Linked DNA regions of Homo sapiens: region 2 is linked to region 1. The links are contacts of gene promoters, found by promoter capture Hi-C in blood cells and fetal thymus (Javierre and others, 2016). All regions are on one chromosome and are shown on one strand. Each heading gives the region's core, a stretch centred on a gene start or on the middle of the fragment in contact. The rest is flanking DNA. Distances are from core to core; before and after follow the strand shown.

The links. The method cuts DNA at HindIII sites, captures the fragments that hold promoters and counts their contacts. A CHiCAGO score of 5 or more calls a contact.
Region 2: the fragment with the promoter of UBXN1 here is called in contact with the fragment with the promoter of SCGB1A1 in region 1 in 3 of 17 cell types (total CD8 T cells, total CD4 T cells and monocytes); the score reaches 6.2 in total CD8 T cells.

What each region holds. Positions count from the first base shown.
Region 1 is chr11:62,415,098-62,421,467 of GRCh38, forward strand. SCGB1A1 (secretoglobin family 1A member 1) reads left to right here and starts at 3,936. Exons shown (of 3, transcript NM_003357.5): 1 at 3,936-4,053. The coding sequence starts at 3,999. It overlaps LOC102723765 (a long non-coding RNA gene), which reads right to left. Exons shown (of 4, transcript XR_007062699.1): 2 at 1,608-1,753. RefSeq lists a silencer at 2,960-3,254. The HindIII fragment of the contact is 29,364 bases long and covers 1-4,885 here.
Region 2 is chr11:62,677,325-62,684,288 of GRCh38, forward strand. UBXN1 (UBX domain protein 1) reads right to left here and starts at 1,749. Exons shown (of 9, transcript NM_001286077.2): 1 at 1,541-1,749; 2 at 1,366-1,419; 3 at 1,171-1,277; 4 at 1,015-1,084; 5 at 603-794; 6 at 457-508; 7 at 194-310. The coding sequence starts at 1,599. RefSeq lists an enhancer at 1,508-1,837. The HindIII fragment of the contact is 15,579 bases long and covers 1-6,964 here.

The DNA of each region.
Region 1 (6,370 bases), core at 2,686-5,185:
AGTTTCGCTCTTGTTGCCCAGGCTGGAGTGCAGTGACGCGATCTCGGCTCACCGCAACCTCTGCCTCCCAGGTTCAAGCGATTCTTCTGCCTCAGCCTCCCAAGTAGCTGGGATTACAGGCAAGCACCACCACAAGCCCAGCCAATTTTGTATTTTTAGTACAGACAGGGTTTCTCCATGTTGTTCAGGCTGGTCTCGAACTCCCAACCTCAGGTGATCCGCCTGCCTTGGCCTCCCAAAGTGCTGGGATTACAGGCATGAGCCACCACGCCCAGCCTGGGGGCAGCCCCCTTTCAACTCCCGGAGCACCATTTCCTTCTCTGACTTCCTCCATCTCCCCACAGAGCATTCCCATCAGTTGCACCCATCTCTGTCTCTCCTCCTAGCTGTTAAGTTCCTCAAAGACCCAGGAGCCAGCTATCCTGTCCCCAGGACCTCGCACCATGAAGGTGGAAAGTAGAGAGCAGAGTCTGAGGCTATGGGTGATGTGACTCCTGCCTAAGACCCCTGCAGCCATCACAGCTGCCCCGGCCAGACCAGCCACTGCCCACAGAGGGATCCACTAGTGGCGGCACTGGATGGGCTTTAGGTGCCCCCAGTGGTCCAGCTCATCTTCCTTGCCCATTTCAGCTCCATTGGCCACAGCTTTCTTTTGTTTGTTTGTTTGTTTATTTATTTATTTATTTTTGAGATGGAGTTTCGCTCTTGTTGTCCAGGCTGGAGTGCAATGGTGTGATCTCGGCTCACTGCAACCTCCACCTCCTGGGCTCAAGTGATTCTCCTGCCTCAGCCTCCCAAGTAGCTGGGATTACAAGCACCTGCCACCACGCCCGGCTAATTTTTGTATTTTTAGTAGAGAGGGGGTTTCACCATGTTGGCCAGGCTGGTCTCAAACTCTCGACGACCTCAGTTGATCTGCCCTCCTCAGCCTCCCAAAGTGCTGGGGTTACAGGCAGGCTACACCTTTCAACAGTCCCTAAGAGGGGAGGGATGCAGACACCTGAAATCCTCAAGATGGGCTAACCTCAAGAGCCCAGATGATGGGACACAGAAGGAAACTTAAAAGAAAGAAGGCACTTCTGAGATGCTTTATGCAAATACAAGCAAATGCATATGTGGATTCTTTTTGCTTTTTTTTGAGACGGAGTCATGCTCTGTCACCAGGCTGGAGGTGCAGTGGCATGATCTCGGCTCACTGCAACCTCTGCCTCCTGGGCTCAAGTGATTCTCGTGCCTCAGCCTCCCGAGTAGCTGGGATTACAGGCAAGCGCCACCATACCCAGCTTTTTGTATTTTTTTAGTAGAGACGGGGTTTCACTATGTTGGCCAGGATGGTCTCAATCTGACCTTGTGATCCACCCGCCTCAGCCTCCCAAAGTGCTGGGATTACAGGCGTGAGCCACCGCGCCCAGCCTTCTCTTTGTTCTTTTTTGCTCTATTCATGCCTTGTTTTTCCCCCTTTGCAGTCTGCCTTGGAGATCATTTCACCATCAGCTCAGAAGATCTTCTTTCTCTGTTTTCAGCCACACAGCGTTTCATTGTAAGGACACACCATAACGTACTTGACAAGTCTTTGTTGGTTGCTAGTTTAGAACGTGTGCTCTTACCGGTGTTAAGGCGTCTCGGAGTGGGACGGTTCCGGGGTCACCACAGCCTTCAACTGTCACATGGCACAAAGGCCTCATGCATGGATTCATTCCAGGGATTCCTGTTTAGCAAGCGTTGCGTACCTTGGCTTACAGCGGCCTCAGCCCTAAAGGAGGTCAGTCAAGTAAAGGAGTCATACAAGAAAATAAGAATTGCAAAGTTAAAATATTGTATAATGGGCCCTGTAAGCAGAGGGGGAAGAGAGGCCCATGGGGAGAGTCACCACCCATCAGAACCACCTGTCGGGGAAGGCTTCACTCCCTATTTTCACCCCCAACCCTATTTTTCCCAAGTCTTCTCTGTGTCAGGAAATAACACCCCATTCCCCCAGCTGCCCAAGTCAGGGTCAGTTCATCAGGAAAGGGATATCAGACCATGTCACTCCCTGATTAAAACCTTCAAGAGCTTCCCACTCTGAGTGTAAAGGCCTTAGAACGAGGCCTTGTGTGCTCTGGCCCCTGAATGCCCCCTTTGCAGGCACAGCAACCCTTTCGAAGCCCTCAGGCACAATGGGGTCCTTCTTTTTTTTTTTTTTTTCTGAGACGGAGTTTTGCTCTTGTTGCCCAGGCTGGAGTGCAATGGCGTGATCTCAGCTCACCGCAATCTATGACTCCCAGATTCAAGCAATTCTCCTGCCTCAGCCTCCCAAGTAGCTGGGATTACAGGTGCCCACCACCACATCCAGCTAATTTTTGTATTTTTAGTAGAGACGGGGTTTCATCATGTCAGCCAGGCTGGTCTCAAACTCCTGACCTTAGGTGATCCACCTGCCTCAGCCTCCCAAAGTCCTGGGATTACAGGCATGAGCCACCCTGTCTGGCCTTTTATTTGTTTATTTATTTTTATTTATTTATTTATTTTTGAGGAGTTCTTGAAGTGCCACGCAATGCCTCTCCATGTCTATCTACCCCAGTTCCCGACTCCTAGCACCACATCTGGCACATCATAGGTGGTCAGCATTTATTGGATGAATGAATGGATCAATATTTGATTGAGTCTTGAAGTACGAATAGAATTTGGCGAAGTGGACAAGGCAGGAAATGTGTATTCAGGCATGAGGCTTAGCTTGTGCATAGGTAGAAAGGCATGAAAAAACATGGAACATTCTCGAATCCACAAATAGTAAGAGAGGGCTAAGTCGTTGTGTGGGGGAGAGGAGAAATGAAGTTCAAATGGTAGGCAAAGGTCAGTGGGCAAGGGCCTTGTAAATTGCACTTGAATTTTATTCTTTAGGCAAAAGGAAGAGTTTAAGGGTTTCAAGAAGAAGGACACGACCAGTGGGTTTTAGGAAGATCATTCTGATGGCCTTTCAGAGGATGGCTGAGGAGAGCTAGCAGGGAGGCAGGGAGGTCGAGTCAGGGGATTTTGACCAGGCCAGGTTAGGTGCTATGAGGCCCGGGCTTTGGAGAAGAACCAGGAAATGGCAACTGGAGGCAAGAAAGGGGAGAAGGCCAAAGCCTGGGAACCATCAACACTTAAGAACAGTAAAGAATAAACATCTAAAGAGAACAAGAAGGAATGGCCAGAAGAAGGAAAACAGGAAAGAACTGAGGCGTGGGAGCGCAAGAGAGAGAATGGTTCGAGAAGGAAGCAGTCACAGGTGTCAAGGCCATTGGGAGGTCAAGTGAGATAAGGACTGAAGGTCCCACCAATTGGGCCATCAGGAGCACAGGACTTGAGAGCACTTCTGGGTGGGAACAGACCCAGCCTGGGGCAGGGCTCAGGTTTCTGATGGGAATTCTGGAAGGGTCCCTTTTATTCAACATGCTTCAATCCAGGGGCCCCCGAAGTCTGACCACAGCAATGCTCCAAACCATGTGTCTTTCCTGGCTTAAGGTTCAGTCGCCCTCCTCAGAGGGGAGCCTATGAAAGAGCCCAGTGGAGTGTCAGGGTCCTGAGTCCTAGTCCTAGTCCTGTCCCTGCCACTTGTGAGGGAACTTGGGCCTCAGTTTCTCCAGGTGGGCTCCACAATTGCTTCTCTTGATCTGGACTGCCCCAGTGCCCAGGTTCAGTGAGTGACACAGGCAGCTGGGTTTCCACATCCTCTGACTTGGGTTCCCTTCACTGCCTCCAGGCAGGGCTCGGCCCTCCACCCCCAAGTGGCCCATTGTGTGAGCTCAGTTTCAGTGGGGACAGAAACTGGGTTGAGAAAAGGGAATATTTACCTATCCCACCAAGCCAATGCCAAGTAAATAGTGCAGTATCTTATGTAGAGCCCTTGCCCTGCCCTTCCCCATCTGGGTGCTGCTGCCTAGAGCATATAAAAGGCACCTTGCTGGGCATGTCTCATACTAGCCCACCAGACTCAGAGACGGAACCAGAGACGGGCCAGAGCATCCCCCTCCTCCACCATGAAACTCGCTGTCACCCTCACCCTGGTCACACTGGCTCTCTGCTGCAGCTCCGGTGAGTGCTCAGAGACCCTTCCCTCCCTCCTGGACTTAGGAACTCTCAGGACCCCCCAGTTCTGCTCAGAAGAAGGAGTGAGCTGCCCATTCCTGCTCTGGAGCTGCTGGGAGGACCTGGGCATGCTGAGTCTCAGAAAACTGGGTCTGGTGAGCAAGCTCATCTTGGAAACTTGGAGAGAGCCCCAGGCTGTAAGGAAGCCTAAAAAGGGTCCCATCTTCTATATCCAACAACCCTCAGAATCCCAGGGAATGGAATAGCCTGGAGGGAGGAGTGGAGAATACCCCATAAAGATGAGTACATCCAGCATAGGAATAATGAGGCCCTCATCCCAGATCTGGACAGACTCCAAGATGCTGAGACCTTGGTGCAGCCTCCAAGTCTGGGGTCTCCACTCCATGCTGGCAGCTGAAGTCACTGGAAGGGGAGCTGCAGGGACTCGTGACCCCAAAAGAAACCCAACCCAAGACAAGGTCTCTCATTCTGGGCACAGAGGAATATTCCAGAAAGAGAGCTTCCCTTTGGGGAACTGCCAACCCAGAGTGAAGTTTTCTAAACATTTCCGTCCTCTGCAAAAGGGATTAGGAGTCTCTGAGTAGTTGCTGCTGTCACTAAAAGGAAAAGAACTGTGGGGGGAAGAGGGGCAGAAAGAGAGACGGAGAGAGGGGGAGAAAGGAAGGAAAGAAGGATCACAGCTCTCTCCAAGATCCCCCGTCTTTGGGGAACTGGGTTATCTAACTCTGTTTTTCACTCTGCGTCAGCCTCTTCCATTCTCATCTGAAAATGCTGTTGTTATTTTTTAATAAACAAACTCCAATTAATTCACTTGGAAAGCTTCACAACACCCATGGAGATAAGTTTTATGACCCTGGGGAGTTAGAAAACCCAAACCAAGAAGCAGTAGGAACAACTATTTTGCAGAGAGGTTTATTTGTTTTTCAGAGAAAATGACATCATTTTGGACTGAAATGTGTATTAATTAGAAGATCTCAGTGCTGTCTGCGTACAGAGGTGGGTGGCTGAGCAAGATAGGACTGCAACATGTTAAGGGGTGGGTCAGAGATGCATTTGTCTATTTGTGTGCACATGCATACAATATTTAACACTTACTTCACACAATGTGCCAATCACTGTCACCCTTTCACATAATATCTCTTTTCATTCTTTTTTTTTTTTTTTTTTGAGACAGAGTCTCGCTCTGTTGCCAGGCTGGAGTGCAGTGGCGCGATCTCAGCTCACTGCAACCTCCGCCTCCCGGGTTCAAGCGATTCTCCTGCCTCAGCCTCCCAAGTAGGTGGGATTACAGGCACGCACCACTGCACCCAGCTAATTTTTGTATTTTTAGTAGAGACAGGGTTTCACCATGTTGGCCAGGATGGTCTCCATCTCTTGACCTCGTGATCCACCCACCTAGGCCTCCCAAAGTGCTGGGATTAGGCGTGAGCCACCATGCCTGGCCTCTCTTTTTATTCTTACAACAACCCTATGAAGTAGGGATATTGGGCCAGGCACGGTGGCTCACGCCTGTAATCCCAGCAATTTGGGAGGCCGAGGTGGGTAGATCACTTGAGGTCAGGAGTTCAGGACCAACCTGGCCAACATGGTGAAACCTTGTCTCTATTAAAAATACAAAAATTAGCCAGGCATGGTGGCGCATGCCTGTAGTCCCAGCTACTTGGGAGGCCGAGGCAGGAGAATCACTTGAACCTGGGAGGCAGAGGTTGCAGTCAGCCGAGATGGCATCACTGCACTCCAGCCTGGGCAATAGAGCGAGACTCCGTCTGAAAACAAATAAATAAATAAAAATAAAATTTAAATTAAATTAAAATTTAAAAAATAAAAAATAAAATGAAGTAGGGATATTGTTCCCATTTTACAGATGAGAAAACTGAGCTACAGAAACACAGAGTGACTTGCCTGGTGACACAGTAAGTTACACATCAAGGACCTAAGTTCTGGAGAGGGTCTGACTTGGAGTGGCAATTTCTAGTGAGGCCCTAGAGTCAGAGGAGGGAAGGCAAATTTGTTCAGAAGGCAGAGAATTCAAGGAAAAGGGATTTGAGACTCACTGGGAAGATGGAGGCAAGCAGTGGGTAGAAAATGGTGACTTTCCCCCATGTTCCTGGTTGTAAGGACCTGAGAAGAAAACAGAGTCTGGAAGCTCTGTGTTGAAGGGAATGAAGTGGTACAAGTGGCTGCTCTGTCCATGAGCTGAGTGTGCCACAGGGCCCGCTGTGCACATGTGCACACCTCTTCCCGGCCAGGTTCGGGGGCCCATGTTTGGCTGGTACAATCTCAATGGCTTCTTTTCTTTTCT
Region 2 (6,964 bases), core at 499-2,998, 260 kb after region 1:
GTATGGGTTTAAATACAACTGGGGCAGGTGAAATTTGATACCTTTCCCAAGAGTAGAGATAGGATTTCAAAAGTCATTTACAAAGAAGGGAGAGATTTGGCAAAGGGCACGTTAACTGAAAAAAGCTCTGAGCTGGGCACCTTAACACGGAACAAAGGGGTCCCAAGAGGAAGATAAGAATTAGAATCAGTACCTGTATGCGACACTGGTCATACTCCCGCTTGGTGGGAGGCTCCTGGCTGGGAGAAGAGGGAACAGGACCTGGCTCTGGTGCCACTGGGGGTGGCTGAGAGCCCACACTGCCACCATACTAAAGGGCAAAGTAAAACAGTCAATCAGGTACTCACCCATCCTCAGGTGAAACAGATCATATAAGCCCATGCTTTCCCTCTGAAGCTGGAAAAGATTTACTAACCTGCCCACTCCATTACCCGTGGCGTCTTCTCAGTCACCTACCTTCTTGGCTCTCTCTGCTTTGTCCCTCTCGATCTTTTCTCTAACTCTTTGTCTGAAATGTAGACAAGAAGAAATTAGGTCAGACATCAACAAAGCAAATCTTGATTTCTTTCTCATCTGCTATCCATCATTTCCCCTGCCCAGACCTGGCTGCTAACTCCTCGGCCTTTTCCCTCCGCCTCTCCTCAGCAGCCCGGCGCATCTCATCTTCCTGTAGCCGCTGTCGTGCTGCTGACAACTCTTGCCCTTGTCTCCTGCGCTGCCGTTCCCGTTCCAATGCCTCCCGTTCCTCTCTTTCTTCACGCTCCCGCTGCTTCTGGGCCACCAGCTCCAACATCCTGTGTTGCCGAGGGAAAACAGTTCAAGAGAAATGGACAGAGTGGGAAGGTGTAAAGTTTACAATAAACAAAATTAGGCGACATATATCCCAAAGTAGATTAAAGGAAAAGAAAATGCCAAGAAAGAGGAAATGTGGAAAGGTCAAGGTTCTTTGACCAGACGTGTACTGGGGAGAGATGGAAGACGACCCTCAGACACGTGAGATTGTTGTTACTGTACCTCTTAGTTTGTTCCTGTCTTTCCTCTTCACTCAAAGCGGGTTTGCCTTCTCCGGCAGCAGAACCAGATCCTACAAACAAACAATCGGTATTATTATCCCTTCAGATTCTCCTCGGACCCTCCTGAATAATCACACCGTGGACCCTCAGTCAGGACCTTCAAGGCCGCCTTGCTCTGAGGAAGTGGGCTCCCGTCCCAGGATATGTCCAAGGGGAGTCTCTAAAGGCTCGTCCACATCGGGGTCGTCTTCGTGCTCCATCAGCCTGGCAGGGAAAGTGGGCGGGGAGGTTAGCTTTGAGGCTGCCCCTCCCGCCAGCCCCCAATTCTCCGCCACCCGGGACGAGCGCTTACCAGTCCATCGCAGCCTCGATGCCCTGGTTCCCTGTGAGGGCCAGAGCCTTCTCCCTGGGGGCAGAAACACCATGAATAGCGCCCACGAGCCATGGTGACGGTCAGGCTGGGGCAAAGGCCGAGACAGGTCCGCGACCCCCCACACCCGCAGGCCGGGGTTGGGGAACTCCCTTACGCGCGTCCCCTGGGGAAGCCCATCTCGATGAGACTCTCAAGAGCCGTCAGCTCCGCCATGGCGCCGACACCGCGGCTTCCGCGGGGACCTGGTGTGTGACGAGAAGGAGGGCGGGAAGGGTCAGCGCGAGGCAACCCGCCCTCGACACCCGCCGACGGGCGCTCGCTCTCTCACCCGGCTCTATAGCAGCCGGGAACACCGACGAGAAGAAAGCCGAGGGGAAGCGGAAGTGCCGGATCTGTTTGGGTCACGTGGGGGCGGATGTCGACGGGTGCCGCTGAGAACCATAAAACTTCTGGCCCTGCTGCCAGGACTTTCCGTGGGTGGGAACAGGGAGGCAACCCACCAAGCCAAGGCGCCAGGCTGCTGTGGGGAAGAAAGCTGGTGCGGCTCTGAAACCCGTGGGCGGAATGAAGCCAGTTCCCGGAACTTCATCCTGCCTCACCCTCCTTAGAAATTAGAAGGAATATGGTCCCTTAGCGCAATGCTTTGGGAAGTTCTTTGGCAATGTTTGCCAGGAGCAGAAGAAATGTCTTGCTCTTTGGCCCACTCATTCTCCTTAGGGAATTGAGCCATCCTCTGCCTGACTGCCAAAGGGATTTTTGCAAAACACAATCATGTAGTCCTGTCTTCACCTCCCTGCTTAAAAATCCGTGACACTTCCACCATCTAGGACAACTTACTTTTTTTTTTATTTTTTATTTTTGAGATGGAGTTTCACTCTTGTTGCCCAGACTGGAGTGCAATAGTGCAGTGGCGCGATCTCTGCTCACTGCAGCCTCCGCTTCCCGGGTCAAGCATTTCTCCTGCCTCAGCCTCCCGGATAGCTGAGATAACAGGCGCCCACCACCATGCCCAGCTTTTTTTTTTTTTTTTTTTTTTTTTAAGAGGGAGTCTCGCTCTGTCGCCCAGGCTGGAGTGCAGTGGCGCGGTCTCGGCTCACTGCAACCTCCGCCTCCTGGGTGCATGCGATTCTCCTGCCACAGCCTCCTGAGTAGCTGGGATTACAGTCCCACGCCACCATGCCCGGCTAATTTTTGTATATTTAGTAGAGACAGGGTTTCATCATGTTGGTCAGGCTGGTCTTGAACTCCTGACCTCATATGATCCACCTGCCTCGGCCTCCCAAAGTGCTGGGATTACAAGCGTGAGCCAACGAGCCTAGCCATTTTTGTATTTTTAGTAGAGATGAGGTTTCTCCATATTGGTCAGGCTGTTCTCGAACTCCTGACCTTAGGTGATTCACCCACCTCGGCCTCCCAAAGTGCTGGGATTACAGGCGTGAGCCACCACACCCAGCTATTTTTGTTTTTGAGACAGGATCTGGCTCTGTCGCCCAGGCTGGAGTGCAGTGGTGCAATCTTGACATACTGCAACCTCAGCCTCCTGGGCTCAAGCGATCCTCCCACTTCAGCCTCCCAAGTAGCTGGGACTACAGGCACATGCCACCACACCCGGCTAATTTTTCTTTTTCTTTTCTCTCTCTCTCTCCTTTTTTTTTTTTTTTTTTTTTTTTTTTTAGACAAAATCTCACTCTGTAACCCAGGCTGGAGTGCAGTGGCACAATCTCAGCTCACTGCAACCTCTGCCTGCCCCGGGTTTAAGCGATTCTCCTGCCCGAGTAGCTGGGATTATAGGTGGCTGCCACCGCGCCTGGCTAATTTTTGTAGTTTTAGTAGTGACGGGGTTTCACCATCTTCACCAGGCTGGTCTTGAACTCCTGACCTCATGATCCACCCACCTTGGCCTCCCAGAGTGCTGGGATTACAGGTGTGAGCCACCGCGCCCGGCCTAATTTTTCTATTTTTTGTAGAGACGGGGTTTCGCCATATTGGCCAGGCTGGTCTCCAACCCCTGAGCTCAAGTGATCCACCTGCCTCGCCCTCCCAAAGTGCTAAGATTAAAGGCGTGAGCTACATACTCGGCCATCTGGGACAACTTAAATGCTAGTGGTCTGACTTCCTTCTGCGCCCACCTTGGCTTTTTTTGCGGGGAGGGGGGTTAGAACCCCCTCTCAAGTGGAGATCACAATAGCACCTACTTTGGTGCCTGGCAAGGCAGAGTATGTAAATGCTGGTAGTTATTGTGCAGTTTCATCACCCACCACTTGAGGGTAAGCTGTGCATATTGCAAACCAGACTTCACCCTCCTCTTGGCCTGTGCACCAACCAGTCTCCGCCTAGGATGTCCTGTCTCTTCACTTAGTAAACTAACTCCCAGGAGTTTTTCAGGATTCAGGATTTGCCTTCTAAGAAAAGCCTGCTTTGACCACTGCTGTCTGCCTTCCAGCTACAGTATTTAACCCATTAAGCATTTATCCCCACTGCTGTGAGTCACTGTTGATTACTTTGTGCTCCACCACTACCCGGGCTGTTAGATTCCTGAAAGTGAAGCTCACTTTAAATGTTTATTAGAAGGTAGAGTAATAATGACAATAACAGTTACTGATATTGATAATATATGCACTAGAGACTTGTGTGTGTGTGTGTGTGTGTGTGTGTGTGTGTGTGTGTGTGTGTGAGAGAGACAGGGTCTCACTTTGTTGCCAGGCTAGAGTGCAGTGGTGGGATCTTGGCTCACTGCAACCTTTGCCTCCCAAGCTCAAGCTGTTCTCATGCCTCAGCCTCCCGAGTAGCTGGGATTACAAGCACCCGCCACCACATCGGGCTAATTTTTGTATTTTTTAGTAGAGAAGGGGTTTCATCATGTTGGCCAAGCTAATCTCGAACTTGTTACCTCAGGTGATCCACCTGCCTCGGCCTCCCAAAGTGCTGGGATTACAGGCGTGAGCCACCGTGCCCGGCCTGCTAGAGAATTTTGTATGATTAATCCATATTTAATCATCACAACAATCCCTATGATGTAGAAGCTATTTTTAGTCACAAAAAAACAGACTCAAGGCCAGGCATGGTGGCTCACACCTATAATCCTAGCACTTTGGGAGGCCAAGGCGGGTGGATTACCTGAGGTCAGGAGTTCGAGTCCAGCCTGGCCAACATGGTGAAACCCTATCTCTGCTTAAAAAAACATAAAAATTAGCCGGGCATAGTTGCAGGCTCCTGTAATCTCAGCTACTCAGGAGGCTGAGGCAGGAGAATTGCTTGAACCGAGGAGGCGGAGATTACAGTGACCCGAGATCGTGCCATTACACTCCAGCCTGGGCAACAAGAGTGAAACTCTGTCTCAAGAAAAAAAAATAAAAAAACAAAAAACAGACTCAGAAAGATGTTTTTTTTTTGGCCAGGCACGGTGGCTCACGCCTGTAATCCTAGCACTTTGGGAGGCTGAGGCGGGCAGATCATGAGGTCAGGAGTTCGAGACCATCCTGGCTAACACGGTGAAACCCCTTCTCTACTAAAAATACAAAAAATTAGCCAGGCGTGGTGGCACACACCTGTAATCCCAGATACTTGAGAGGCTGAGGCAGGAGAATCACTTGAACCTGGGAGGCGGAGGTTGCAGTGAGCCAAGATTGTGCCATTGCACTCCAGCCTGGTGACAGAGTAAGAGGCCGTCTCAAAAAAAAAAAAAAAAAAAAAAAAGGAAAGATGGGTTTTTTTCTGAGACAAGGTCTGGCTTTATTGCCCAGGCTGGAGAGCAGTGGCACAATCTTGGCTCACTGCAACCTCCTTCTCCCAGGCTCAAGCCATCCTTTCACCTCAGCCTCCCAAGTAGCATGTACCACACCTGGCTAACTTTTGTATTTTTATTATAGTAGAGGTAGGTTTCCGCTATGTTGCCCAGGCTGGTCTCGAACTTGTGAGCTCAAGCCATCCCCTGCCTTGTGCTGGAATTACAGGCGTGAGCCACCATGCCCAGTGCTGGAATTACAGGCGTGAGTGCTGTAATTACAGGCGTGAGTGCTGGAATTACAGGCGTGAGTGCTGGAATTACAGGTGTGAGCCACCATGCCCAGCCAAGATGAGATAATTTACCTAAAGTCACAAAGTAAATAACAAAACTAGGATTCAACCCAAGGCAGTGTGTGTTCTCTAAACCACTATGCTATGTTGCCTCTCCACGGTAGAGTGACAAGCATGGGCTTTATTTTTTTATTTTATTTATTTATTTTTTGAGACAGAGTCTCCGTCTCAAAAAATGAAATAAATAAATAGTAATAATAATGAGATAGTATGACCTCTCGTTATTTGTAAATAAATGAATGCTAAGGAAGGCCGGGCACGGTGGCTCATGCCTATAATCCCAGCACTTTGGGAGGCTGAGGCGGGCGGATCACGAGGTCAGGAGATCTAGACCATCCTGGCTAACACAGTGAAACCCTGTCTCTACTAAAAATACAAAAAAATTGGGCGTGGTGGCAGGCGCCTGTAGTCCCAGATACTCAGGAGGCTGAGGCAGGAGAATGGTGTGAGCCCAGGAGGCGGAGCTTGCAGTGAGTGGAGATCACGCCACTGTACTCCGGCCTGGGAGACAGGGACTCCGTCTCAAAAAAAAAAAAAAAAAAAAGGAAAAAAGGCACAGGGTATTCACTGCAGTATTATAACAAGTGTATTCAGGATAACATATGTATTCTTTTTTTGTTTTTAGAGATGGAATCTCACTCATTACCCAAGCTGGAGTGCAGTGGCACGATCTCAACTCACTGCAACCTCTGCCTCCCTGGTTCAAGCGATTCTCCTGCCTCAGCCTCCCGAGTAGCTGGGACTACAGGCGCCCGCCACCACACCCAGCTATTTTTTGTATTTTTAGTAGAAATGAGGTTTCATCATGTTGGCCAGGCTGGTCTTGAACACGTGACCTCAAGTGATCTGCCCACCTTGGCCTCCCAAAGTCCTGGGATTACAGGTTGAGCCATTAAGCCCAGCGGGGATAACATAGTATTCTAAATTTATTGTAGAGGTTCTATAATAGAATAAATTTTTTTTTTGAGATGGAGTCTCACTCCGTAGCCCAGGCTGGAGTGCAGTGGCGTGGTGTCAGCTCACTGCAACCTCCACCTCTTGGGTTCAAGCAACTCTCCTTTGTCAGCCTCCCAAGTAGCTGGGACTACAGGTGCCTGCCACCACACCCAGCTAATTTTTGTATTTTAGTAGAGATGGGGTTTCATCTTGTTGGTCAGGCTGGTCTCAAACTCCTGACCTCAGGTGATCCAGCTGCTTCAGCCTCCCAAAGTGCTGGGTTTTAGGCATGAGCCACCATGCCTGGCCTTCTTTTTTTTTTTTTTTTTTTTTTGAGACGCAGTTTCACACTTGTTGCCCAGGCTGGACTGCAATGGCGTGATCTGGGCTCACTGAAACTTCCACCTTCTGAGTTCTTTTCTTCTTTTCTTTTTTCTTTTTCTTTTTCTTTTTTTTTGAGATGGAGTCTCACTCTGTCGCCCAGGTTGGAGTGCAGTGGCATGATCTCCACTCACTGCAAGCTCCGACTCCCGGGTTCATGCCATTCTCCTGCTTCAGCCTCCCG